Linked DNA regions of Homo sapiens: regions 1, 2 and 3 are each linked to region 4. The links are contacts of gene promoters, found by promoter capture Hi-C in human tissues and cell types (Jung and others, 2019). All regions are on one chromosome and are shown on one strand. The core of a region is centred on a gene start or on the middle of the fragment in contact, and the rest is flanking DNA. Distances in the headings are between cores, read along the strand shown. Region 1 overlaps STK32B (serine/threonine kinase 32B). Region 2 overlaps STK32B (serine/threonine kinase 32B). Region 3 overlaps STK32B (serine/threonine kinase 32B). Region 4 holds the start of STK32B (serine/threonine kinase 32B).

Region 1 (7,434 bases), core at 3,882-6,381, 270 kb after region 4:
AGCACGCACCCAGGCATACAGAGCTGGAATCCATGCTCACCACTCCTCTCAGCCTTTGTTCATGCTGTTCCTTATTTCTGGACCATTGTCCTTGCTCTCTGCTCCTCTCTGGTTCTATCAACCAGGGCTCAGCTTCAAGGAAGAGAATACAGTCTTGTTAGTTCAGAAGAAAGAGATTTGTTACAGGGTATGAAATGTCTTCTCAGAATCCCTGGGAGGCAGAAGAGCTGACTCTGGGCTGAAACTCTGAGAGCTCTGCCCAAAGTCACAGGGAGAACTGACCTGCAGAGGATGTGGCTGCCTCTGCTGCGGGTGAGAAGCTGCCTCCCAGAATGAGACCTCAGACCTTGCCCCACTTAGCCATGTCTTATGTGGATGCAACTTACTGAGAAACCTAAATCATGCAGGAACTCTAGCTGCAAGGGAGTCTGTGAAATGAACTTGGCAGATTTCTAGCCTTTGCATTTACAGGAAAGCACACTTGCAGGAGGGTGGAACAGACACTGATGAGCCAATTCAAGTCTCCACTCTACCTAGACGTCTCTTCCCCTTCAGAATCCCTCCCCTTTTTTGATAGGTCCCTCCCCTATGTGTTTCTACACTACCTTATCCTTCCCCTCCTAGAGTACAATGAGCACCTTGAGTAGAGCGGCCACATCTGGTTGATGAATGATTCCCCCTCCCATGATAGGGCCTGGTACATAGTAGGTGTTCAACAAACATTCAGGCATATTCACCCTGCAGAACGCCTCTGCACTTAACATTTTCTTGGTCCAGTGCCTCTTGATTTTCATTACTAAGGCTGCATGGACTGTATTAGGTTGAACCATGTGAAATTGTTATTCCATAGTCAAAATGGTAAGCATTGGCAATTTCACATGGCTTAACCCTGTGTGTATCTATCAGTACTTTTTCAGCTATTGTTTACATTGAAAAAAATTATATTTACAGCCTTGAAACTCAATATAACATTTTTAACAATGTGATATCAGGTCAAGTCTCAAGTTACATTTCAAATACAACTAGTGAAATGTAAGAACCAAGTGTAGTCAGTTTGAAAAATCACATTAAGTATGTATCGCCACAGGGATGTGCGTCTTAGACACTGCTGAGGGTAAACAAGACCATGTTACTGCAAAAGCCCAAAACTAAAACATCATTAACTATATTTAGTGTTTGATCATGAGGATGGAATGGAAACACTTGACATATTAGCAGATGGATATCCTATCTATTTTGTTGTGTTTACATTGTATTTTAAGAAATTGGTTAAGAAATTTGGGTTGAAGAGTGATGCATTGTAATTTTTCCCACTTAAATAATGGGAAATACATTCTTAGTGTCTTCAAACAGAATGACTGGTTTTTAGGAACAGGTCGATTATGTTCAATAGATGATGCATGTATACTGAATGATGAGAAGTGCATCACTGTAGACTCAGAAGAGTATGCACTGTGTAGTTGAAGGGAAGGGTCTTTGAGAGAGTACAAAAGGGCTTTGAAGATGTGGTTGGCAAAAGGATTTCAGAGGGAGGGGGTTGGAGCAAAGCTGAGTGCGACTCTAGGCAAGTTACTCAGCTTCTCTGAACATCAGTTCTGTCACCTCTAAAATAGCCATAATAATGCCTACACCAAAGTGTTGGAAGATTAAGTGAGATCTCCAATGTAAAGAGCTCACATAGAGCAAGGAGCCTCGGTCAATGGTATTAAAAAAAAAGCACTTAGGACCATGGCTACTACATAGGAAGCACTTAGCATATGTGAGTTATCATTTATCCTTTCCCATTCTTTCATTCAATGCCCCTTGTAAGAGAATGCAAGTTATAAATGTCTTTTGGAATTTGGCCCAAGAAGAGCAGTTTGGCTTCATCTTATTTAATCAAGTGGTGAGGGCTGTGTTGGTCATTCCCCATTGCCCTTTGCTTTCTTTCCACTGCTAAGGGAGCAGGAGCTACTGTTTCAGGCTCACTGTCTGTCCCCGTGAACAGTACGTGTGCCTCTCCTTCGTTGTACATTTTTCCCACTATCTCCTCTATCAGTCTTACCTGTCCTTTGTCAGCCACTACAAATTCTTTAGAAGCATGAAGGATATAGATTGAAATAAATAAAACCATGAAGGCACAAGGGCAATATTCTGCATTTATACAGATAGATAGCACTTTACAGTCTGCAAAGCCCCTCCAGTGGGACGGGGGCACCGTGGACCTGAAGCCTGCCTTCACCTCATCACGCGACTGCTCCTGCCCCCAACTGCCTCTGCCTGGAGGTGCTGGATGGCTTTGAGAGGTTCTCATCTTGTCGCCTTGGTCTACGGGAGGCCATTGGAAGCTAACCAGCGTCCTTCGACTTCCTGGGAAGGAGATAGGAGAATCAGTCCAGTGTGAAGAACAATGAGAGCCATCATGTTTGAGTGGCTTCAAGACTCTTGTGCCTCAAGTCAAATTAAAAAAAAAAAAAAAGTGGTGGGAGTGGGGGTGGGGGGTTGGGCTGGCTGAACACAGTGGCTCACACCTGTAATCCCAGCACTTTGGGAGGCCAAGGCAAGAGGATTGGTTGAGGACAGGAGTTCAAGACCAGCCTGGGCAACACAGCAAGATTTTGTCTATGAAAAATAATAATAAGCTTATCATTGTGAATGTTATTAAAGACATGTATCAGGCACAAGTCAGGCTTGATAAGCTCTTTTTTCCTCGTACAATATGAGCTGTCAGAAGGCCGAGCGCTCCATTGTTGGATTTCTGTAGCGTGTGAGGCTATTCTTAGCTCCTCTCTTGCTGGCTGTTACATTTTTAAGAATCGCTAGAGGTGAGCATAGTGAGTGAGACCTCCCCTCCATCTGCTACCCTCGGAGGTCAGATGGAATGGAAAGTGGCCTGAGGAGATGCTCAGCTCATTGCCCCTGCAGTTGCCACACAGTAAAAACACAGGAGATGAGTGTTGTAGACATGTGGTTTGTCCTGGCTGCCAAGATTTTCTGAATCCCACAGAGTCATCTCTGGGCACCCAGTGACTTTTGCCTCAGGAAGAAGAAGTGGAGAAAGGTGGCTGTTTCAAATAGTTCAAGTGGCATTGTGCTGCCTGGAGACTAAGAAAGGTCTAGGGTTTCCTCCAGACTCTTCCTTTCCCTTTCCAGCCCTCCCCTACCTTTAACAACTGCACAAGGTTTGTGGATGCTACACTGTTTGCCAGGCCCTGGGCAAGGTGAGATGGAGAGTCAGTCACTCATCAGGTAAGAGGAGGAGCTGAACCAAGCTTTTCCAACTCCAGATTTCCCCCAGCAACAGGCACTGCCTCCCTCATATGTGTTCACGTGTATTTCATGTGTTATCAGCATGGCTGACCTTTAGTTTGTAAGCAGCCTCCAAGGCTGATGATTGAGTACATGACATGCTTTCCAAGAAAACTGACCTAGTGACCTTGGACCAGTCAACCTCTCTTGTCCTTGGTTTCCTCCATTGGGCAATTGAGGGTGATAATGCCCACGTCCCACGGTTAGTTGGGACAAGTGTTAAGGGATGAGCAGGGGGTCTGTGAAGAGCACCTCTCCTCCCTTCTCGATTTTAGGACTAATTGAGAGACAGGAGTCTGACAGGTGGAGGTGGAAGTATCCACTTCATGCTAACAGTCAGTCAGAGAAACCCACTTTAGATTGGTAGCCAAAACGGCTTGCTACCTCTTGAGTTCTGAAATGGAATCACCTCCGAGGCACAGGAAACGGTGATCACCTGCAAGTCCCCCTCCACCAGCCAGGCCCTGGCTGTTGCAGAGAGCAGACAGGAGTGTAAGCCCACTATGAGCAGGTTCTGAAGCAGAAGGGGAGCCCGAGGGGACTGTGCTGAGCACGGCTGCTTCTTCTGGACTCCCTCATCAGGTCTATCACTTCTGCACCCTGCAAGGGAGGGAGACGGCTATGGGGAGAGACTGGTGAGTCACTCAGGCTAATGGGAGTCCCTGGTCTCTGTGACAAGAAGAGGCCAGAGAAAAAGGAGGTTCCTGTAGGTAGTGACATAAACAGCAGGGCCTAGCACCCTTCCTTCCCCATCAACCCTCTACCCTCTGTCTTTTTTCTGTACAATGCCCCACTTCTGTGTAGACATCATTGACTGACCCAATGTGCCACACAGAATATGGGTGTTTCAGGCGTTTGTGGCTTTTTCATTCCGGAGTGTGTGGAATGCTCCTGGCTATGTGCTAAATGCAGGGGATGGTGCTGAATTAGCTAGGTCCCTGCACTCAGAGTTCACTGGCTGGTGGGGAAAAGAGACCAGAAGAGCAATGGTGACTTGGCCACAAGGAAAGTGCTATAGGGCATCAAGCACAGAGTCTAGGTTCTGGACATGGACTATCTTGGCTCAGTCCCAGCTCTGCTATTCCCTGGCTGTCATCTTGGACATGTTACTTAATCTCTCTGAACCTCATGGTCTTGAGCTATCGAAGGCAGTTTGTAATAACTCCTATCTCAAAGGATTGTTGGGAACATTAAATGAGCGCATATACGTAAAGCACTTAGGCCGGGCACGGCAGCTCACACCTGTAATCCTAGCACTTTGGGAGGCCGATGCAGGAAGATCACTTGAGGTCGGGAGTTCAAGACCAGTCTGGCCAACATGATGAAACCTTGTCACTTTTAAAAATATAAAAGCTAGTCAGGTGTGGTGGCATGGGCCTGTAATCCCAGCTACTGGGGAGGGTGAGGCAGGATAATTGCTTGAACCCAGGAGGCAGAGGTTGCAGTGAGCCAAGATTGCACCACTGCACCCCAGCCTGGGCAACAGAGGGAGACTCCATCTCAAAAAATAAAAATAAGAAAATAAGGCACTTAGAACGGTGTCTGGCACAGAATTTGCACCACATCAGTGTTAACTGTTATTATTATAAGGGACTAGGGGGTCACCTGCCTCAGTTTCCGGGGTTAGGGAAGGCTTCTTAAAGGAGGGAGCGTCAGTCTTAAGCAGGGTTTTTCAACCTCAGCACTGTTGCCATTTTGCAGTAGGTGATTGTGGTGGAGGCCGTCCTGTGCATTGTAGGATATTTAGCAGCATCTCTGGCTCCAACTCACTAGATGACAGCAGCATCCCTCCAAATTGTGACAACAAAAACTGTCTCCACACATTGTCCAATGTTCCCAGGGGAGCAAAACTGCTCTGGGTTTGGGAACCCTGCACTATGCTGAGAAGTGAGTGATGGACAAGAGGACAGAGGTGGTACACCAGGAATAAGGAATATTGTGGGTGAACGTGTGGAATTGTGAGAGTGTGGGTCCATCCAGGGACTTGTCCTAACATGACGGCAAAATCTGGGCTCCCTTATGAAATCTTAAGCCCAGGTGAGCACTCATGTGCCGACTTCTCCCACTAAATCCTTGGCTTCTTGCAAGGACCAAATGCATGGGAGAAGCCTACTGAGTACTTGCTGCTGTGCGTGCGAGCCTGTCTTCGTGAAGTAGTCCCTGAAGAACATTCACCTCGTGCTCTGCTCTAAATTTATCCTGGTATGAAGAAAGTTCATCCGTGAGCATGACGCACAGCCTCATTGCTTTACCCCATGTGGCATTGCTTCTATGAAATTGGATTTTTAATGCCTTCAGCCTACCTTGAAGCACATCATGCAAAAAATTCCTGTTCCACTTATTACTGTGTTTAGAGTTATTTTATGTAGACTCATGGTTCACCACATTACAGAACACCATCTTCATAAGAATCCAGTGGAAGAAATTTCCCACTGATTTCAGTACCAGGACAAAAATCTTGCTTTTCCTAAACAATTGTTTTTTTTTTCCACATCAGCTCTGAATCATGTAGCTGATCATGTTTCTCTTTTTGCTCTGTGTGCTGGGGAGATTTGAGACACATTGATGGGCCATTTCAGGGAAGCATACAGGATCTTGAGGCATAAATTGGGGTATTTTTTCCTGATTCTGTTTTCTTGGATTTCTTTTTTATTCTGTGACTTGATCTTTGTCTTCCTTATTTTTAATTCTATTATGTTATATACATTTCACAAGTCACCTGAATCCTTTCTGGAACAAAGTAGGAAATTAATAATTTTTTAAAAAATAAAACATGGAAAATCGCATTCTTTATGCAGTTCTATTGCAATAGCCAGGCCAGGATTTAGGCCTTCACAGCACACAATTTTCTTTGCTCTTGCAAGGAGAGCCTAATTTTCCAGATTTTTCCATAGGTCAGAGTTACTGTGATAGAGCTTAGCTTTCTTATTTGTGATCTCCATCATTTCCATGACAATGTTCAGCACTATTATGAGAATATAATTCTAATTCTAATACAAGAAGCAAAAGGGACAATGTCACAAAGCTGTAGAATAGTGCAAAACTACAGAGAGATAAATGAAAGGTCATTCTGTGTTCTCCAGTAATAATATTGAGTGTCTCTGGGAATGTAGGGTCTGTGGCCTGGTGAAGAATGTGGATCTGCAGCAAGAAAAAGCCACAACCTGAATTATTGCTTAAAATATTGTTCTCTTAGCATTTTGATTTTCCTCTTTAGAATTCATTCCAGTATGCAAGTTTCCCTCTGAAAATTCATGTTGCTCCTCCAAAGAGTTGTGATGGAATACTGAATGAGATGCCCTTTGACAGTTTAGCTGTGAGTTGAGAGTACAGAACTCGCTGGTTATTAATGCAATGTTTCAATAGTCCATCAACTATTAGAATACAAATTGTGCATCTGTAGTCGGCATATTATGTTTGATTCCTGTGTTTTCTTTTGGGGCATCTATATTCTTCTATCCAGTAGCAAATACATGAAAAGTTGTAACTCAGTTCCAAGTCACAGAAATTCAAAGTAAAGTAGCTTAATTAAAAAAAATAAAAACAGTCATTGCCCATGTAAATATGAAGTTCAGGGATGGATCTTTCTTCTGACTAGGTGGGAGCCAGTACCTCCAACAGTGCCTCTTTCTGCATTTAGCTCCCAGCCCTGCTTCCCTCTCTGCAGGTTCTCTCCCTAGACAGGTCTTATTGACATTTTTTCGTTTTCTAGTGCCTTTAAAAGTTATGTTTATACTACACTGTATTCAGTGTGCAACAGCATTATGTCTAAAAAGTGTACATACTTTCATCTAAAATACTTGTTAGCTACAATGCTAACACTCATCTGAGCCTTCTTTCAACAAGTCACAGTCTTTTTGCAGGTGGAGGGTCTTTCCTCAATGTTGATGGCTGCTTACTGATCAGAGTGGTGGTTGCTGAAGGTTGGGGTGACTGTGAAAATTTCTTAAAATAAGAAAACAATGAAGCTTTCCACGATGATGGAGTCTTCACTTCATGAAATATTTCTCTATAGCAAGTGGTGCTGTTTGATAGCATTTTGCCCACAGTAGAACTTCTTTCAAAAGTGGAGTCAGTCCTCTCAAATCCTACAGCCGCTTTATCAACTAAGCTTATGTAATATTCTAAACCTCTTGTGTCATTTTA
Region 2 (6,956 bases), core at 229-2,728, 440 kb after region 4:
CGTTGTAAAAGCAGTATTAGGGTGGGAGGGACCTGATTTTCCAGGTGCCATCTGTCACCCCTTTCTTTGACTAGGAAAGGGAATTCCCTGACTTCTTGCGCTTCCAAGGTGAGGCGATGCCTCGCCCTGCTTTGGCTCACGCTCGGTGCGCTGCACCCACTGTCCTGCACCCACTGTCCAACACTCCCCAGTGAGATGAACCTGGTACCTCAGTTGGAAATGCAGAAATCACCTGTCTTCTGCGTCGCTCATGCTGGGAGCTGTAGACTGGGAGCTGTACACTGGAGCAGTTCCTATTTAGGGGACTGGAGCTGGCTCCACCCCCCTAAAATGTTTTATTTGGGAGGAAAGAATTGCAATTCAGGGCATACATTGCAGATTGGCTGGTCTTTAAGTATGTCCAAAGAACAAAGAGAAGGTTAGAGGTTTCATAAGAAGGAGAAATATTACATATTGCTCTTTGAGAAGTTTCACTGGCACCAGTAAGATGTTGAGCAGTTAGCAAGTTCTGATTGGTAAGTAATAGCAGTGGGCAAAACCAGTCTTAGAATTGCAGCAGGTCATTTACTGTATTTCAGTTGGGTATGACAAGAATGACCCAGTTCATATGATCAGTTTTTACAAGTTCCCTTTTTGGTCAAGCTGTTTCTCTGAAAGTGTTGTTGATCAACCATGCTGTAGTTAGGCTTAATTATCCCTCAGCACCAGAATGGATCTGTCCCAGTTGTCTCTGTCCCATGTTGCAGGGAAGATATGTGGGTCTTTGTCAGGGACCCAAACCACAGTAAAGTAACAAAAAGGCCAGAAGGAAAAATCTTCCCAGAATGGGTTTGACTGTGGTCTAGTATTGATTTCCATCTAATTAGTCCATGGGCATGAGCAGTCATCTGGAAGTGTTGAGTTAACATTATCCTGTTAGGAGACTTGGCATCACAAAGATTGGAGAGGCAGTAAGAGCAAAGTTTAAAAATTATAATACAATTATAATATGATAAATGATTAACAACAACACAATACAATTAGTTTGTACAATGATTTTGAACTCACAGCCGAAGCCTAAGGGCAACAAACTAAAATCTAAAGACTGTGGAGGAAACTGGGTGAGACGTGTTGTAGCCATTGAGTCACATTTTATGACTGGGTTGACTTAAAGAAGAAAATGTCAACTGACAAAAGAAATCACCAATACAACTTGACCAAAAAGCTGTGCTAGGGTTATCGTCAAAATAGCCTAGAGCAATTACGTATTGTAAAATGTGAATTACAGCATTATCCTGCCAAATGAAAAAGGTAGCATCGAGGAGGGGAGGAGTCTTATTCTGATATGGAGTCTCGTTCTGACACCTTAGGATAAGCTGTTTACAGTGTGGAAAACACCCCCTTCTTATTTTGGTTTGCAGTTTAAATGTCTCTGGTTATGGCATCAGGAAGCTTGGTGAACCTTCTTTGTGGCCCACACATGAGGCATGAAACCTGCTCCTTAAAATTTATCTAGTTTCAATGTATCAGGCTTTAGGAACAAAGCAAGTCTCATTTTAGTAATTTTATTTAAAAAAGAGAGTTGAATTTGAAGAATTCTAATTTAGGACCTAGGCTGGTCTATAGGCAGATAACAAGAATTCATAAACAATGTACAGAGTTACAACCTGATAACCCTATTCTTATATGGTCAGACCAGCCTGACCAACATGGTGAAACACTGTCTCTACTAAAAATACAAAAATTAGCTAGGTATGGGGCACATTCCCGTAATCCCAGCTACTCAGGAGGCTGAGGCTGGAGAATCACTTGAACCCGGGAGGCAGAGGTTGCAGTGAGCTGAGATCACGCCACTGCACTCCAGCCTGGGTGACAGAGTGAGACTCCGTCTGAAAAAGAAAACAAAATCAATGTAAGATTTTATGGTGTAATGGTGAGCACTCTGGACTTGGAATCCAGAATTAACAAACAGAACATCCTGCAATTTTATTAAGAGCAGATCAATATTTCAAAAACATTTTTTATTTAAATATAGGGAACTTTTTTTTTAGTTTTTTACTAATGTATTTTGAATGTCAAAACTCAGTTGTTAGAAAGGTTATCATAAATAATTACCTTTTAATTGTAGTCAACTTGATCACACACATTACTTTCATAAATTTCCCTTTCACAAGCCTTTCTGTGACTCACATAGACCATGCATGACATGCCTTAAATATTCTGCTTTGTCTTCTGCCTCCTCCTTAAATAACTCAGTCATTTTATTTGAGGACAAAAATTTACCACACAAGATTCTTTCTCATTCAAAATTAGTCTCTTTTCTTTGCAACCTTCCTTAGCAAAAATTTATCTTCATATCTATAACTTTCTTCACATCTTTCTCTCCTACTTACCAGTTCTTTTATATCTTGTTTCTATTTTCTTGCTAGATTTATATTTTAAAACCACCTCTAAATAGCCTCTGAATTAGACAAAACATTTTTTTCTCAATAAAGAATATATTTTATGTCTGTCTTATAATTCTTATTAAAAACTTCATATTTTTATATTTTATATACAGAATGTTATATGTTAATTAAAATTTTTAACTCTCAGTAACCTTGAATTTTAGTAAAACTCTAGGACTCAAGATCTTTAATTGTCTGTCATGTATCAATATTTTGAACGAGAACCAGTTTATAATTTGAAGTCGTAATTGAAAATGACCCAGACATTTAATGAGTACCTATTAATTAAACATAACCTTAAGATTTCAAATCACATGAAAAGTTTATTCATAGACATTTGTCCAATTTACGTTTATCTGCTTTATTAATTTTTAATAGCTTACCTAAATTACCTATGAGAATTGAGATATTAGACAAAGCTAATCATCATTTCAAGTTTTTTCTCTATTAATAATTTTTTAGCCTGTAAATATCAATTGTTTACCTAAGCAAGAACCCTAAAGTTAAATGCATGGTTTCCTGTCCATAACTCAGAAAATATGGCTGTTTTGATTAAATTAGCAATACTTAATTAATTCTATTCATCAAGTAATTGCAGGAAGATCATTTTGTTTTAGGCTGGGTTCATAGCCTTATGATCTGAAAACATAGAAAAAGCAAAATATAAAACTGTCTGATAAGTAAACCCAGGCAAAAAAACGTATGTAGACAATTATGAAGACATTTTAAATTTTATTTCATTAACAACAATTTTATTTTATTTTATTTATTTTTTATTATTTTTTTTGAGATGGAGTCTTGCTTTCTCACCAGGCTGGAGTGCTGCAGCACAATCTTGGCTCACTGCAACCTCCGCCTCCCAGGTTCAAGCGATTCCCCTGCCTCAACCAACTAGTTTACCAAAGATTTACTTACGTGACATGAACTTTATAAAATGGGTTAATTACTGTATATTTTATATGAGTGCTCATTTATTGAAATCAATCAAAATACAATTTCTTAAGAGATTTCTGGCTGGCTACATCAGATTTTATTATGTAAACAGAAGATACAGTGTAATACATGTATATATACATAAATACATCTAGACAGACATATATACATACAAATGAAGATCTTGTAGTTTTTATTTTAGAATTTTGTCATTGGATAGTAATACAAACTCACTGGTTTACAATTGATGGTTGGACCCAAATTATTTTTTGAAAAAAATGAGATAAGGCTAAATTTTAAGATCTTTTTGTTGTTTTAAGTAGGCATTTTTTTTTTTTTTCTAGACAGTCTCACTCTGCCACCCAGGCTGGAGTGCAGTGGCATGATCTTGGCTCACTGAAACCTCTACCTCCCGGGTTCAAGCAATTCTCCTGCCTCAGCCTCCCGAGTAGCTGGGATTACAGGTGTGTGCCACCATGCCCAGCTAATTTTTGTATTTTTAGTAGAGATGGGGTTTCACCTTGTTGGCAAGGCTGGCCTTGAACTCCTGACCTCAGGTGATCCACCCACCTCAGCCTCCCAAAGTGCTGGGATTACAGGTTTGAGCCACCACGCCTGGCCTGTTAGGCAGTCTTATGAAGGCTGTCAACCAAATTTGGGGTAAGGCAGTTTGACTAGGTTGCCAATATACTGAATTGGACAAAGAATAATGTGACTAAATTATGTCAGGAGGCCTAAAAGATAAGTTATTTTATTATAGCAGAGCCTCGTCTTTTTTTTTAATTTTTTAAATTTTTTTATTATTATACTTTAAGTTTTAGGGTACATGTGCACAAAGTGCAGGTTAGTTACATGTGTATACATGTGCCATTTTGGTTGCTGCACCCATTAACTCGTCATTTAGCATTAGGTATATCTCCTAAAGCTATCCCTCCCCAACTCTCCACCCCACAACAGTCTCCAGAGTGTGATGTTCCCCTTCCTGTGTCCATGTGTTCTCATTGTTCAATTCCCAACTACGAGTGAGAATATGCGGTGTTTGGTTTTTTGTTCTTGCGATAGTTTACTGAGAATGATGATTTCCAATTTCATCCATGTCCCTACAAAGGACATGAACTCATCATTTTTTATGGCTGCATAGTATTCCATGGTGTATATGTGACACATTTTCTTAATCCAGTCTATCATTGTTGGACATTTGGGTTGGTTCTAAGTCTTTGCTATTGTGAATAGTGCCATAATAAACAGACGTGTGCATGTGTCTTTATAGCAGCATGATTTATAGTCCTTTGGGTATATACCCAGTAATGGGATGGCTGGGTCAAATGGTATTTCCAGTTCTAGATTGCTGAAGAATCACCACACTGACTTCCACAATGGTTGAACTAGTTTACAGTCCCACCAACAGTGTAAAAGTGTTCCTATTTCTCCACATCCTCTCCAGCACCTGTTGTTTCCTGACTTTTTAATGATTGCCATTCTAACTAACTGGTGTGAGATGGTATCTCATTGTGGTTTTGATTTGCATTTCTCTGATGGCCAGTGATGGTGAGCATTTTTTCATGTGTTTTTTGGCTGCATAAATGTCTTCTTTTGAGAAGTGTCTGTTCATGTCCTTCACCCACTTTTTGATGGGGTTGTCTGATTTTTTCTTGTAAATTTGTTTGAGTTCATTGTAGATTCTGGATATTAGCCCTTTGTCAGATGAGTAGGTTGTGAAAATTTTCTCCCATTTTGTAGGTTGCCTGTTCACTCTGATGGTAGTTTCTTTTGCTGTGCAGAAGCTCTTTAGTTTAATGAGATCCCATTTGTCAATTTTGGCTTTTGTTGCCATTGCTTTTGGTGTTTTAGACATGAAGTCCTTGCCCATGCCTATATCCTGAATGGTAATGCCTAGGTTTTCTTCTAGGGTTTTTATGGTTTTAGGTCTAACATTTAAGTCTTTAATCCACCTTGAATTAATTTTTGTATAAGGTGTAAGGAAGGGATCCAGTTTCAGCTTTCTCCATATGGCTAGCCAGTTTTCCCAGCACCATTTATTAAATAGGGAATCCTTTCCCCATTGCTTGTTTTTCTCAGGTTTGTCAAAGATCAGATGGTTGTAGATATGCGGAGTTATTTCTGAGGGCTCTGTTGTGTTCCATTGATGTATATCTCTCTTTTGGTACCAGTACCATGCTGTTTTGGTTACTGTAGCCTTGTAGTATAGTTTGAAGTCAGGTAGCGTGATGCCTCCAGCTTTGTTCTTTTGGCTTAGGATTGACTTGGCAATGCGGGCTCTTTTTTGGTTCCATATGAACTTTAAAGTAGTTTTTTCCAATTCTGTGAGGAAAGTCATTGGTAGCTTGATGGGGATGGCATTGAATCTATAAATTACCTTGGGCAGTATGGCCATTTTCATGATGTTGATTCTTCCTACCCATGAGCATGGAATGTTCTTCCATTTCTTTGTATCCTCTTTTATTTCATTGAGCAGTGGCTTGTAGTTCTCCTTGAAGAGGTCCTTCACATCCCTTGTAAGTTGGATTCCTAGGTATTTTATTCTCTTTGAAGCAATTGTGAATGGGAGTTCACTCATGATTTGGCTGTTTGTCTGGTATTGGTGTATAAGAATGCTTGTGATTTTTGTACACTGATTTTGTATCCTGAGACTTTGCTGAAGTTGCTTATCAGCTTAAGGAGATTTTGGGCTGAGACAATGGGGTTTTCTAGATATACAATCATGTCGTCTGCAAAGAGGGACAATTTGACTTCCTCTTTTCCTAATTGAATACCCTTTATTTCCTTCTCCTGCCTAATTGCCCTGGCCAGAACTTCCAACACTATGTTGAATAGGAGTGGTGAGAGAGGGCATCCCTGTCTTGTGCCAGTTTTCAAAGGGAATGCTTCCAGTTTTTGCCCATTCAGTATGATATTGGCTGTGGGTTTGTCATAGATAGCTCTTACTATTTTGAGATACGTCCCATCAATACCAAATTTCTTGAGAGTTTTTAGCATGAAGGGTTGTTGAATTTTGTCAAAGGCCTTTTCTGCATCTGTTGAGATAATCATGTGGTTTTTGTCTTTGGTTCTGTTTATATGCTGGATTACATTTATTGATTTGCGTATATTGAACCAGCCTTGCATCCCAGGGATGAAGCCCACTTGATCATGGTGGATAAGCTTTTTGATGTGCTGCTGGATTCGGTTTGCCAGTATTATTTTATTGAGGATTTTTGCATCAATGTTCATCAAGGATATTGGTCTAAAATTCTCTTTTATGGTTGTGTCTCTGCCTGGCTTTGGTATCAGGATGATGCTGGCCTCATAAAATGAGTTAGGGAGGATTCCCTCTTTTTCTATTGATTGGAATAGTTTCAGAAGGAATGGTACTAGTTCCTCCTTGTACCTCTGATAGAATTCGGCTGTGAATCCATCTGGTCCTGGACTCTTTTTTCTTGGTAAGCTATTGATTATTGCCACAATTTCAGAGCCTGTTATTGGTCTATTCAGAGATTCAACTTCTTCCTGGTTTAGTCTTGGGAGGGTGTATGTGTTGAGGAATTCATCCATTTCTTCTAGATTTTCTAGTTTATTTGCGTAGAGGTGTTTGTAGTA
Region 3 (7,036 bases), core at 4,164-6,663, 300 kb after region 4:
GCTTCTGGTCCTAAGACCTTTTTGACAAAGGCTCATCGCTCATTTAATAGCAGTGTACATGAAGGAATGTAAGAGTCCAGATTTTCTCAAACAGTGGCTTTAGTGGCTTAAATTGGGCCTTGGGCAGTATCCCACCCTCTCTGGGTCCAAGTCTGGGTTCCTTCTGATGAGCAGTGGAGTTTGTAAACAAACAAACCCAAACCTCTGACTTAGTTCCCCAGAACAGTGGGACATAGGAGCAAGACTGTGAAGCCGACAAAACCCAGATTGCATAATTGATGCAGGGAGGGATTGGGGTCACCCTGTGTGTAGACAGGGTCCAGGCCTGGCCACTCACCGCTGTAAAGAGCAGTGCTAAGAGCCTTTACATCTTGTTCTAGCTCAGAGACCGTGGGTAAGTCAGTGACTGCTCTGGACATGATTTTGCTACTCTATTAACAAGGAGGAGTGCTCACCTCCCACAGAGCTGTTGAGGGATTGAATAAGCTGAAATAAGTGTCAGTCACTGTATTAGTCCATTTTCACACTGTTATAAAGAAATATCCAAGACTGGGTAGTTTAGAAAGAAAGAAGGTTTAATTGACTCACGGTTCTTCATGGCCGGGTAGGCCTCAGGAAACTTACAATCATGGTGGAAAGGGAAGCAAGCATGTCTTAGATGGTGGCAAGTAAGAGAGAGCACATGTGAAGGAGGAACTGTCAAACACTTATAAAACCATCAGATCCTGTGAGAACCCACGTACTATCATGAGAACAGCATGAGAGAAACTGCCCCTGTGATCTGGTCACCTCCCACTAGGTCCCTCCCTATACATGTGGGGATTATGGGGATTACAATGTGAGGACATGAGATTTGGGTGGGGACACAGAGCCAAACCATATCAGTCACCATAAAAAGTGTTCACCAAATGCAGCTCATTTGTCTTGGGGAGCTGGAAAGCTCTACAGTTAGAAGCTGGATTCAGCTAAGAACAGAGCCTGACTCTTAGATTTGGCTAAAGACAGCTGGCACCTTTGTTGTGAGTTCAGGCACATCATCTAATCTCCCTGAAGCTTTGGTTTATTTTCTATAAATAAAAATACTATCTACAGTGAACATAAACATGATCTCCCCAAAATATCCACATTTTAATACCTAGAACCTGGGAATATGCTGTGTTATACAGCAAAGGGAAATTGTGGTGCAGATTGAATTAGGGTGGCTCATCTGCCATTATTGAGATGGAGGAGATTATCCTGGATTATTTTAGTAGAGCTTATGTACTCAAAGAGCCTTAAAACTGAAAGAGTGGTGTTTCAAGATTGCTGACTACATACATTTGGTAATCACCTCATCCATGGAGAGTGATATGGTTTGGCTCTGTGTCCCCACCCAAATCTCATCTTGAATTGTAATCCCCACATGTCAAAGAAGGGGCCTGGTGGGAGATGACTGGATCATGGGGGTGGATTTCCTCCTTGCTGTTCTCATGATATTGAGTGAGTTCTCACAAGATCTGATAGTTTAAAAGTGTTTGGCACTTCCCTCTTTGCTCTCTTTCTCCTGTTCTGCCATGGTAAGACATGCCTTGCTTCTCCTCACCTTCCACCATGATTGTAAGTTTCCTAAGTCCTCCCCAGCCATGCAGAACTATGAGTCAATTAAGCCTCTTTTCTTAAAAAAATAAATTACCCAGTCTTAAGTAGTTCTTTATAGCAGCATGATAATGGAATAAGACAGAGAGGAAACAAAATAATGAGTACATAACCACTCTGAGTAGATCATCTAAGAGAGAATACAGGAGTTCAACAGAAAAGTGATGGGAAGCACCAAAAGCAAGGAAGGAGAGGGAAGCAGGACAACCCATTTGGCTGGGATAGGCTGTTAGGAGAGGTTCCCTAATGCTGGAAAATAAAAAGTGAGAGACCCCTCAGGGGTCCAGATTCCCACAACAGATTCCTACAGTCCTAGCCATGGGAGAGCCCCTCAATCTTTCTGGCCCCTGAGACTAACATAAGGAACTGCATGGAGACTGTGGGAAGGCACTGCTCCAGAGAGGGAGTCCATTCTGTGTCCCACACCTTCTTCCCAGTCCTAAGCAGCTGCAGCAGGCTGCCATTTTGAGAGCCCAGCCACACCAGACTGCATTCTTCCCTAGGGCCCAACACCCCTTGCGCTTTTGCATCTCTGGAATCCCATGGACATTCCCCACCCATAGCCGTTGCTTTAGGAACCAAGGAGGGAGCAACTGGCAGTGACACCACCCGACCTCTAGTAGAGGGGTGACTGCACATTTTTATGTGCTGTGAGGACAAATTCCCACCCACTGCTGCAGGGTGCTGTGGGGCTGAAGTGCAAGCAAAGTGCACACCCCCAAGTTGCCTGATTACAGCTGCTGCCGCTAACAGCATCCCCACACTACTCAGTAACAGAGCTTTGGCACAGCCACTGCCACCTTCACCTGAGCATTCCACCAGAGGCCTGAGGATCACCACAACCCTGCCTACAATAGGCAGTGTCTGCATGCACCATCAGGGGGCCTGAGGACAGTTTTGCCTTTCACAGCTTCACCCCTCACCAGTACCTGAGCATGCAGCCAAGGGACCTGGGGGAATCATCATCCAACCCAGTCCACCACTGATGGCACCTTAACACTCCTTCCAGAGTCTGAGGTCAGGCCCAGTCAGCCTGCCACTACCATCACAGCAGGTACCCACCCACATGTGCCACCTGTAGGTCTGAGGGCTGGCCTGCCCAGCCCATCACTGCCACTACAAATACCAGCATGGACTGCTTGGGTTCCAAAGGGTTGTTCTACCATTGTGACTACCCATCATTCATGTCATGCCTGCTACTCAGGAGCTTGAGAACCCACCAAACTTCCTGGCCCACTACTGCCATTCTTAGCACCTGAGAAAGCCACCTAGAGGTCCAAGAGCTGGCCTGCCTGGAACAAATAAAGCCAGTGCCAGTATATGCCACCCTGGGGCCCAAGGACAGGCACATGCACTCCATCACTGCCACCAATGTGGCCCAAAGACTGGCCCACCTTGTATCCCAGTGCCCAGCAAAACTTCAGCAGAGCCTCCGTAAACAACAACATACTAAGCCACCAAGGAAACAACAGACACTATCAATGCTGTTTTATACCTGAAGAAACCATACAGAGACTACACTGCTGCACCCACCCAGAACCAAAGCCAAATTTCTCTACACTGCCAACACAATATACACATCTTTAGGAAAAAGTCTTCCCCTATGAAAGCAAATTCAAAAAATTGAAAAAAGTGACTATTATGCCAGATGCACAGGTAACAATGTAAGGACACAGGAAACATGAAAAAGCAAGGAAATATGAAACCCCAAAGGAACACAGTAATTATCTGGCAACACAGATCCCAATCAAAAACAAATGTATTGAATCCTAAAAAAAGAATTCAAAATATTGACACTAAAGTTCAGTGAGATAAAAGAGAATATTGAAAAGCAATGCAAAGAAATTAGAAAAGCAACTCAGGATATGCCTGAGAAATCTACCAAAGAAATAGATATAAAAAACAACCAAGCAGAAATTCTGGAACTGAAGAATTCATTTAATAAAATACAAAATACATTCAGAGGCTTCAGTAATAGACTAGATCAAGAAGGGGAAAGAACTTGAAGACAGATCTTTTGAAATAAACTAGTCAGACAAAAATAAAGATAAAAGAATAAAAAATAATGAGCAAAGCCTATGTGACATATGGGACACCATAAATCAATTGGATATTCAAATTTTCAGTGTCCCAGAAGGAGAATAGAGAAGGAAGGGAAATAAAACCTATTTAATGAAAATTCTCCAAGTCTAGCAAGACATTTAGACATCCAGATACAAGAAGTTCAAAGGTCCTGGCATAGATACAATTCAAAAAGGTTTACTCCATGGCACATTCTAGTCAAAATGTCAAAAGTCAAAGAAATTAAAAACAGCAAGAGAACAGCATCTAGTCACTTATAAAGGACTTCCCATCAGGTTAATAGCAGATTTTTCAGAAAAAAATATTTAAAACTGCAAGTCAAGGATGCTACACTCAAAGTTGTCTTTCATAAATAAAGGAGAAATAAAGTCTTTCCCAGACAAGCAAAAGCTGAGATAATTCATCAGCATTAGACCAGCCCTACAAGAAATGCTTGAGGGAACCCTACCCCTGGGAGTGAAAGAATGATAACTCCCACCATGAAAACACACAAAAATATGAAAACCACTGGTAAAACAACACACAAACAAAAAATGGGAAAACTCAAATGTTACCAGTAGAGAATACCACCAAAACGCAATGATAAACAATAAAATAGGAACAAAGGATATACAAAATAACTAGAAATCAATTAATTAAATGACAGGAATATACCCTCACATATCAATAATAACATTGAATGTAAATGGATTAAACTTTCTACTTAAAATATATAGACTGGATGAGTGGATTTAAAAGCATGACCCAACTATATCCTGCCTACCAGAAATGTATCTCATCTGTAAAGACACATATAGACTGAAAGTAAAAGGATAGAAAAAGATATTCCATGCAAAGAAAAACCAAAAATAAGCAGGAGTAGCTCTACTATATCAGATAAAATAGACTTTAAGTCAAAAACTTAAAAAGAGATAAAGAAGGTCAATATATAATGATAAAGGGCTTAATATAAACATATATGCACCCAATGGTGGAGCACCCAGATATATAAAGCAAATTTTATTAGATCTAAAGGGAAAGATAGACTCCAGTACAATAACAGTTGGGGACTTTAATATCCCACTTGCAGCATTAGACATATCACTTAGACTGAAAATTAACAACAACAACAACAACAACCACGAAACACACTGGTTTTATACTCCACATAAGACCAAAAGGACCTACCAGACATTTAAGACCATTTCATCCAACAGCTACAGAATACATCAGTACATGAAACATTCTCCAGGCTAGACCATATGTTAGGTCTCAACAAATTTTTAAAAATTGAAATTATGTCAAATGTTTTCTCAGGCATCAATGGAATAAAACTAGAAATCAATACCAAGAGGAACTTTGGAAACTATACAAATGCATGGAAATTAAACAACATGCCCCTGAATAACCACTAGTTCAAGAAAGAAGTTAAGGAGAAAGTCAAAATACTTCTTAAAACAAATGAAAACCAAGACACACATGCCAAAACGAATGGGATACAGAAAAAGCAGTGCTAAGAGGGAAGTTTATAACAATAAATGTCTGCCTACATCAAAAGAGTAGAAAGATTTCAAATAAACAAATGATTTACCTCAAGGAATTAGAAAAAGAAGAACAAACCAAATTCAAAATTAATAAAAGGACAAAATAATAAAGATCAGGGCAGAGCTAAATAAATGAAATAGGGACTAAACAAATACAAATGATCAACAAAAAAGAAAGTTGGTTTTTTGAAAAGATAAAATTGATATGTCACCAGCTTGACTAAATAAGAAAAAAGAGAGAAACCCAAATAAAATCAGAAATGACAAAGAAGACATTACAACTGATAACACAGAAATACGAAAGATCATCAGATACCATGATGAACAATTATGCACTAACAAACTAAAAAACCTAAAGGAGATAAATTTCTGAAGACATACAACCTACCAAGATTAAATCAGGAAGAAATGGAAAACCTGGGCAGACCAACAGCAAGTAATGATATTGAATTAGTAATAAAAAGTCTCTCAAAAAAGAAAAGTCCAGGACCAGATGGCTTCACTGCCAAATTATACCAAACTTCCAAAGAGCTAACAAAGTTTTCCTTAAACTATTCTAGAAAAGTGAAGAGAAAGAAACTCTCCCTAACATATTCTATGAGGACAGCATTACCTTGATACCAAAACCAGACAAGGATACAGCAACAAAAGAAAAGTATAGGCCAATATTCCTGATGACCTTAGACGTAAAAATTCTCAAGAAAATACTTGCAAACCAAATCCAGCAACACATCAAAAATTAATCCACATGATCAAGTAGAATTTATCTCAGGAACACAAGGATGGTTCAACATATGCAAATCGGTAAATTTAGTACATCACATCAACAAAATTAAGGAGGAAAAACAAATGATCATCTAAATAGATGCAGGAAAAGAATTTGATAAAATTCAATATCCTTTCATGATAAAATCTCTCAATAGACTAGGCATAGAAGAAACATCCCTCAACAAAATAAAGGCCATATGTGACAAAACCCCAGCTAACATCATACTGAATGGGGCAAAGCTGAAATCCTTTCCCCTAGGAACTGGAATCAGACAAGAATGCCACTTTTACCACTCCTATTCAACATAGTACTGAAAATCATGACCAAAGCAATCAGAAAAGAGAAAGAAATAAAAAAAAAAAAAACGTCCAAACTAAAAAAGAAGTCATTTGTCCCTCTTTGCTGATGATATGATATGATATCTAGAAAAACCGAAAGACTGCACCAAAATACTCTTAGATCTGATAAATCGAGTAAAGTGGCTAGATACAAAATCATCATACAAAAATCATCAGTTTCGATTCATCAATAATTAACTAGCTAATATTGTTAAAATGACCATACTACCCAAAGCAATCTACAGATTCACAGCAATCTCTATGAAAATACCAACATCATTTTTCACAGGAATAGAAAAAACAATCCGAAATTCATAGGGAACCACAAAAGAGCCCAAATAGCCAACGCAATCCTAAGCATAAAGGACAAAGCTTGAGGCATCAAAATAACTGACTTCAGAATATCATAAGGCTATTATAACCAAAACAGTATATTTTTGGCATGAAAATAGACACATAGATCAATGGGAAAAAAATAGAAAATACAGAAATAAATCCACATATTTAAGGTAACTGATTTTTGACCAAGATGCCAAGAACGTACCTGGGGAAACAACACCCTCTTCAATAAATGGTGCTAGGAGAACTGTATATCATATGCAGAAGAATGAAACTGGACTCATCTCTCACCATATACAAAAAACAACTCAAGGTGGATTAAAGACTTATATGTAAGACAATAAACTATA
Region 4 (7,674 bases), core at 829-3,328:
CAATAAAGCTTTTTAATCACCTCAGTGCAGGCGGGCTGAGTCCGAAAAGAGAGTCAGCGAAGAGAGATATGGGTGGGGCAGTTTTATAGGATTTGGGTAGGTTATGGAAAATTAAAGTCAAAGGGGTTCTCTGGGAGGCAGGGGCGAGGGTCACAAGGTGCTCAGTCGGGAGCTTCTGAGCCAGGAGAAGGAATTTCACAAGGTAATGTCATCAGTTAAGGCAGGAACAGGCCATTTTCACTTCTTTTGTGATTCTTCAGTTGCTTCAGGCCATCTGGATGTATATGTGCAGGTCACAGGGGTTATGATGGCTTAGCTTGGGCTCAGAGGCCTGGCAATCACACCCAGCTAAGTTTTGTTTTTTTAGTACAGATGGGGTTTCTCCATATTGGCCAGGCTAGTCTCAAACTCTTGACTTCAGGTGATCCACCCGCCTCAGCCTCCCAAAGTGCTGGGATTACAGGTGTGAGCCCCCACGCCCGGCCTAGCACAATATCAATATATTCCTCATAACAATGTTAGAAAGGGAAAGTTCTCTTATTAGCACCTTCTGGACTCAGATGAAGAAACTGAGTCCAGAACAGGTTAAGTAATTTATCCAAGTTAACTGGCTAATGAGGGGCAAAGCAGAATGAAACCTGGGTAGAATGAGCCCAGAGCCCATGCCTGTCCACATTCCGCCCTATGCTTCTTGAGCTAGGGGCCAGCTCTGTGTTCAGGGCATTGCCTGCTGCACACTGGCTACTCAGTGTATGCTTGTTGGTGGAATGAAAGGCAAGAAATATTTATTCATCATTTATTATATGCCGGGCACTGTTGCCTGCTTTTATAAATATTACCTGATATAATTCTCACAGACAACCCAAGGAGTTAATATCAATCAGCCCACTTTGCAGATAAGAACTCCAAAGTGGGACACATTGCCAGTAAATGGTAGAGCCAGCTCTGGGTCATGGTGGGTGGGCCTGCCTCAGACCTTCTCAGTTCTTTCCCACTGCCTTTAAGAGATTTTTTGTTTTGTTTTGTTTTGTTTTGTTTCTGTATGAGTCTCCCCGGCTTCCCTCACCCTTCTCCCAAGAAAAAGAAAGAAGGGGAGAGAACTGGAGAGAGAGACCAGGTAGGGGACGGGGACTGGGGGACGAGATAGGATGGAGAGAGTCACAAAGAACCCCTGCTTTCTATCAAAGCACGGACAGTGGTTCCAGGCGCCCAGCAGATGGCAGGATGTAGCCAAAGATTCCCTGCAGTCCCGGAGAGCTGGGCCCGCAGGACTGCAAGGCAGGGGGACCTGCCTGTCCCTCAGGGAGCGTCCTGGGAACCCGCGCTCGCCCCACACGTCTTGGGGCGCATCTGCCGCACCCCTTACTTAGGCACCCGCAACTGTGGCGCGTATCTCCCGATCCAGGCTCCCGCCGCAGGAGCCCAGGGACCCTCATGCTAGCCTCGCCCCTAAATCGGACGCCGATGCCGCCCAATTTTGGGGGAATCCCGAGACTCATGCCCAGCCATTCCCAGGGAGAATGGTTTGGGGCAAACTATGGCTGTCTGGGGCCTCAGTTTCCCCATGTACAATGAAGGGGTCAGATTAGTATCTAATCTTAAGGGGTCAGAAAGTAAACAGATACTTTCATTCATTAAACACTGAGAAAAACCTTAAGAGGAACAGCGTCGGTTGGAGAGCCAGCAGACACTCCACTGCCCATCCCAATATGAATGGGCAAATACAGGCTAGCGGGGAGTCCTGGGACTCCCTTCGCAGCCGGGGCCGACTAACCACAGACCTAAGAGCCCCTCTACCTCTAGACCTCCGTCTACTGCGCTCTAAAATATGAACGATGCTTTCTTACTGCTGGGTTGTCGGAGGCGGATGTGGGATGGTGCTAACAAAGCGCGTAGCCGAGGCCTGGCCATAGTGGGTGCTGACAAACCGCTTACTGCCTGCAGGGACCGAGCTCCCGGCCGAGGGAGGAGGGCCGAGCAGGGATTCAGATTCTTCCGGGCCGATCCCTTTCTCAGCTCCTTCCGCCCTGCCGCCGCCCACTGCGTGCTGCCTTCGTCCGTCCCCTCCTCCCCCGCTCCTTCCCCTCCTTCCCCTGCTCCCGCGCCGCCTCGCGTCTCCCGCCCGCTGTAGCCGGCGAGGAGCGCCGCACGTTGGCCCCGGCGCGAGGAGCTCCCGGGTTCCCGGGCGGGCACTGGAGTAAGGAGCTGCGAGCGCAGCCCGAGGCGGGGCACGGCGGAAGGCGCGGCGAGAGCGGGGTCCCTGCGAGCGCAGTCGGAAGGGCGTCCAGGAGAAGGGGGACGCCGTCCCCGCCCCTGCACGGTGCTCGGCCCCCTCGGGCTCCGCGCGCGGCTACAACCCGGACTGGGCGCGCCCCCGGCATCCCGCATCTCTGCGCGCGTCCCACATCCCGCATCCGGCATCCCAGCGGCCGGGCATGTAGCAGCGGCAGCAACGGCGGAATATGGGCGGGAACCACTCCCACAAGCCCCCCGTGTTTGACGAGAATGAGGAAGGTAAGAGAGCGAGAGGTGCGAATTCCCGCTTCGCGGGGCATCCCCTTCCTCCACCACCCTCGGCCGAGCCCTGCGGGGCACCGCATGCTGCCCGGCGCGGGGACCCAGGCATGGCCACTTCGCCCAGCGAATGCAGTGTGTGCCCGACCCGTGCCAGGCGCGGCGCTTCTGCTGAGGCAACTCCTAGGTACCCAGTGCCGTTTAGTAGTCGGGACGGTGCCTAGCGCGGGACTGGGGAGGCGGCTTCAGAGAGTTGAACCCGAAACCTGCACTTGGGGGTGTGGAAGGGAGGAGTTGACTTCGGAGGCCAGTCGGGATGGTTCTAGGCTCGGGCTCCCCAGGAAACCGAGGTTTCCTTGAGAGCCTGAGGCTGACGGAGGTGGCCTGGAAGGGCGGGTTGCACCGTGTGTCTGTGTGTGTGTGCGCGTGCCCACGACGCATTTGGTCTCGTGCAAGGGCCTGTTGGATGCAGCTCTCCTCAATCACCCAGGACAGAGGGAAACTTTTCTTTGCTAAACTCTGTGGTTCCTAGGAGGGCGTCCTGTTCTGGGCAGCCTCCCCCTGGCGCAGAAGTGGTGTAGGCTGTCCAACCGCATCTCAACTTCCTGGCTGGATCCTTGCGGTTCAGGTCGATAGAGCTCCCTATTTGGACTAGCAGAACCCTCTTTCCAGTGCAGCGTGTCCCTGGAAAACTTACTTCACCTCTCTGAAACATTAGTCCCTTCATCAATGAAATGTGAGTTATGATACCACTAGCTACTTTATAGGGTTGTTTGAAGCTTAACCACTAGTAATCCACGTGAAAAGTGCCTTATAAATGCAAGCAGTACCGAGCTGTGCCGTTTTTTATGTTAAGAGCCCTCTGCCTCTCAAAGCTGGTTTCCTACTGTGCTGACTCGCCAGTCTCCACTGTGCCCCAGGTAAGAGCTGAGACATACTGAGCACTTACTATGTTCCAGCCATGCTAGCACATAGTGTTCACTCCATCCTTTTCATGCCCCTTGAGGTGGCTACCTTAGAAAGGGGTCTGTCCTGGTTACTGCTGGTAAGAAGTAGAGCTGGGCTTGAGGCAGGACAGTCTGCTTTGAAAGCTGTGCCTGTCATCATTACCCAGGGCACTGGCTGTGTGCGTACATCATGGATGGCTTCTAGAACTCCCAAGGCTGTGAGTGCTACTCAGATGCCTGCCTGGACAGCCCTTCTCAAAAAGATAGATGAACACAGTCAAGGTTAAGTGAGCACCTGCTGTGTCAGGCCCACGAGAGCCTTCCTTAAAGGAGTTCCTAGTCTAATGGCCCTGAATGACCGTCCATGGTGATAAGGGCATTGAGAAACCAGTGCAGGGTCTTGGGGGCACAGAGAGGCCCCAGCTTTTCCTGATCTTTAGTCTGGAGCATGTGCAGGTGAGCAGGTAAGGAGCCAGTTGTGGACAGAGGAGAGGTGGGCACAGAGGTAATGGAGGCTCTTGCATGTCCCAGTAAGAGTTTGAACACTATGCAGCATCACCCTCAATTGCACGGGCTTGTGGTTCTAGCCTGGGTCAAAGGTCATGCTTTTGCTAATTTTCCTAGCATCTTTCTCTTTTATTTACAGAGGAAATTTGCCACCCTTATATTGAAAACCGTCTCTGTCATTTATCCCCAGCTTGAAAATATTCATTGGCAAAATAGTTATCTCTGGTGTAGCCAACCTTTTGATTTTCCTGTTCCTGTTCCTTATTCTATAAGCAGATTGGGCCTAAGGTTAACTGCCTGTTTCGGTGCTTGTTAAAATACAAGGTTATGAGGCCGGGCGCGGTGGCTCATGCCTGTAATCCCAGTACTTTGGGAGGCCGAGGTGGACGGATCACCTGAGGTCAGGAGAGGCCTGCCTGGCCAACATGATGAAACCCCGACTCTACTAAAAATACAAAAATTAGCCGGGCATGTTGGCGGGAACCTGTAATCCCAGCTACTCAGGAGGCTGAGGCAGGAGAATCGCTTGAACCCGGGAGGCGGAGGTTGCAGTGAGCTGAGATCGCACCATTGCATTCGAGCCTGGGCACCAAGAGTGAAGCTCCATCTCAAAATAAATAAATAAATAAATAAATATAAATAAATATAAGGTTAGGGCTCTCCTCATTTTGCCATTGCCCAGCCCAGTGAAACATTAACTTGTTTGATTTTGCCAGTATGTCTCTCACACGTTTCCTAGTACAGGTAAAACAGTGTTACTTGCCACCAACCGACTCATTTATTTCGTAGGCATTTACTATTTGTATTTTCTGTACCCACCCCTGTGCTGGGGACCGGGAATATGAGGAGGATGAAGGCAAAGTGTTAACAATTTGCTCCCAGAGCAAGTAAACCACCTGGAAAACACAGGGTGTGTAAGTGCCCTGACGTGGGTGAGCTCAGGCGACTGATATCCTGGAGGAGGGTCCCTAACTCAGAGTGGGGGGAGGGATCTGAAAAGGCCTCCTCTTTTAGACTGGCATCTTGCAGAAATGGCAGGAGTTACCTGGGGGGAAGAAGTGGGTGATAGAAGGGGGAAGGACGTTTCAGAGAAAGGGAAGAGTATGTGCAAAGGCAGATGGTAAAGAGTAAGCCTGGCTCATGTGGGGGGATTGAGGGGGCTTAGTACTCCTGCATTGTGGAGTATGAAGCTGAAAGGCACAAAAGATGAACCCTGAATGCCTGGCCGGCCTTAAAGGGCCCAGTGGCCGTGGTCAGGTGTTTGGACTTGATCTTATAGGCATTTTGGAGTCACTGAAGGGTTTTAAGCAGGGAGTGACATGGTCCAGTGAACAAGCTCTCCCAAACCATAGTCATTGCGTGGTTGAAGGTTGAAGATGCAAACACCTGCCTGACCAGAACAAGTCTGATTTTTAAGTACTTTGATGTTAAACCACAGCTAAATATTTGCCATTGTGTAATTGTGACAGGACCGTCATCCACATTCCTAAGGCAAAAGTTTAACTCATTGTGTGCAAGTGGTCATAGCTGTTCACGCTCACATGATATATAATAAGCAGAGAAAGGATCATGCCACAGATTAATAGGCAGAGTTGCTTTTTTTCCAAGTGTTGCATAAAATAATGGTGGCTTTACTGTGGATGGCATCTAACATTTGGTGAAAAAGGGCACGTTAGCTGAGCCTCCTCCAGTTGCAAATGATGGAAAAGCAACATTAAGTGCTTTTTTGTTCTTAAAAAACAAAAGGTCTCACTCTGTCACCCAGGCTGGAGGGCAGTGGTGGGATCTTAGCTCACTGCAGCCTCAACTTCCCAGGCTCAAGGGGTCCTTCCATCTCAGCCTCCCAAGTAGCTGGGACAATAGGCTTCTACCATTATGCCTGGCTAATTTTTAATTTTTTTTTTTTTTTTTTAGAGTCAAGGTCTCACTCTGTTGCCCGAGCTCACAAAGTGCTTTTAGGGGAATAAATTGGCTCTGGCCATTTCTTGCCTTCTCCATCACTACCATTCTTGTCCAAGCCATGTCACAGCTCTTGCTTGGATTATTACAGTCACCTCCCTAAGTCCTTACATGGTCTGTCCCTACCCCCGTCACTGTCCCCTCAATGCAGCATCCAGAGTGATCCTGTTAAAACATGCCATGGGCCAGATCAGTCCTCTGCTCTGCTCAGCCCACCCTCAAATCCTCCCTCCAGCCCTAGGCACAACTTGCATCGTTAAGAAAATAAAAGCTGAAGTCCTTATAGATGCCCATCAGGTGCTACCCTCTGAGACTGCACCTTCCTCTGTCACTCCTGGCTCACCTGCCTCCTTCCTGCTCGTCTGACATGCCCTGCACCCTCACACCATAGCCCTGGCACCTGCCCCTCTTGCCCGAGGGCATCTCCCCCCCAGCCCACTCTCACTTCCTTCGGGTCTCCAGGAAAATGTTGTTGACTCATTAGACTCTCATTGACCACCCTACTTAAAATGTCATTCCAAATCCTTTTCCTTGCTTTATTTTTTTTTGTGGAAATTATCACCATCTATCATAATATTTATTTTACTTATTTTCTTGGTTATTGTCTGTCTTTCTCCACTCAGTGCAAGTACCTTAAATCAGGGATCCACAACCCCTGGGCCACGGACTGTTATCAGTTCGTGGTCTGTAGGAACTGGGCCATCAGCAGGAGGTGAGTAGCGAGTGAGGGAGCATTAATGCCTGAGTTCTGCCTCCTGTCAGATCAGCAGCCGCATTAGGTTCTCATGGGAGTGCAAATCCTACTGTGAACTGTGCATGTGAGGGATCTAGGTTGTGCACTCCTTATGAGAATCTAACTAACGCCTGATGATCTCAGGTGGAACAGTTTCATCCTGAAACTATCCTCCCTCTGTCCATAGAAAATTTGTCTTCCATGAAACGAATCCCTGGTGCCAAAAAGGTTGGGGACCACTGCCTTCAATACAGGGATCTTATGTGATTGTCTCTTCCTAAGGAATTGCAAGCTCCTTAAGGTAGGAGTTTTGCATAGTTTATTCACTTCTGTATCCTTAAGGCCTAAAATAACACCTGTAACATAATAGATGCCTGGTAATTTTTTGGTGAATAAATGAATGAGTGAATGAATGAAGGTGTCAATCTCATCAGCCATGGCTGGAAGCAGGCTCCCCATAATATCAAGAATCTTCATTCCTGGATTCTGTGCTTTATTCTCAGGCGGGCTCTCTCTTCATGGGGCTCCCGCCCCCTCCATGTTGATAGCTCCAGAACTCTGAGTATGGAAAAGAGAGGAGTATCTTTCTCATAGTAGTTGCAGAAAATGTCCCACGGTTACTTTGATGGGCTCTAACTGAGTCTTGGGTATTCTTGAATCAATTACTGTGAGCAGGGAGATTTGAGGCTCTAATTGGCTGGACTGTGTCACATGCCCACTTTTGGATTCAGGGGGTAGAGTCAGCTCCACTTGAGGCATTTGGAATAAGGATCTATGTGAAGAATTTTCCCAAGGGATATTGGAGTATCAACGGAAAAAGGGCAAGTGGACGCTGGGTGGGCAGATAGAAACAAAAAACATCCATCCCCCCCAACCTGTTATTATTGTGTTCCTTGAAGCACAGATTGGGACCCTTTGGTGTATCCTACTTAATCGTTTGATTCCACATCCACCTTTTGCACTAGACTGCAGCCTCCTAAAGAACAGCACTTAGTTGTTTTCCACCTTTGTGTC

What was found. Contacts are between HindIII fragments. The study calls those that stand out against the background at their distance.
Region 1: a contact is called between a fragment that was not itself captured here and the fragment with the promoter of STK32B in region 4, in 3 of the 25 tissues and cell types used here (H1 embryonic stem cells, IMR-90 fibroblasts and heart left ventricle).
Region 2: a fragment that was not itself captured here is called in contact with the fragment with the promoter of STK32B in region 4 in 1 of the 25 tissues and cell types used here (dorsolateral prefrontal cortex).
Region 3: a contact is called between a fragment that was not itself captured here and the fragment with the promoter of STK32B in region 4, in 1 of the 25 tissues and cell types used here (lymphoblastoid cells).

The regions. Positions count from the first base shown.
Region 1 is chr4:5,319,564-5,326,997 of GRCh38, forward strand. The region is part of intron 3 of STK32B (serine/threonine kinase 32B); the gene reads left to right. Among named protein-coding and RNA genes, the nearest start is that of LINC01587, 200 kb to the right of the region's middle. The HindIII fragment of the contact is 4,391 bases long and covers 2,937-7,327 here.
Region 2 is chr4:5,486,427-5,493,382 of GRCh38, forward strand. The region is part of intron 11 of STK32B (serine/threonine kinase 32B); the gene reads left to right. Among named protein-coding and RNA genes, the nearest start is that of LINC01587, 35 kb to the right of the region's middle. The HindIII fragment of the contact is 4,995 bases long and covers 1-3,976 here.
Region 3 is chr4:5,346,258-5,353,293 of GRCh38, forward strand. All of the region lies in intron 4 of STK32B (serine/threonine kinase 32B), which reads left to right. Among named protein-coding and RNA genes, the nearest start is that of LINC01587, 170 kb to the right of the region's middle. The HindIII fragment of the contact is 3,055 bases long and covers 3,887-6,941 here.
Region 4 is chr4:5,049,402-5,057,075 of GRCh38, forward strand. STK32B (serine/threonine kinase 32B) reads left to right here and starts at 2,079. Exons shown (of 12, transcript NM_018401.3): 1 at 2,079-2,514. The coding sequence starts at 2,463. RefSeq lists an enhancer at 2,781-3,319. The HindIII fragment of the contact is 7,679 bases long and covers 1-5,696 here.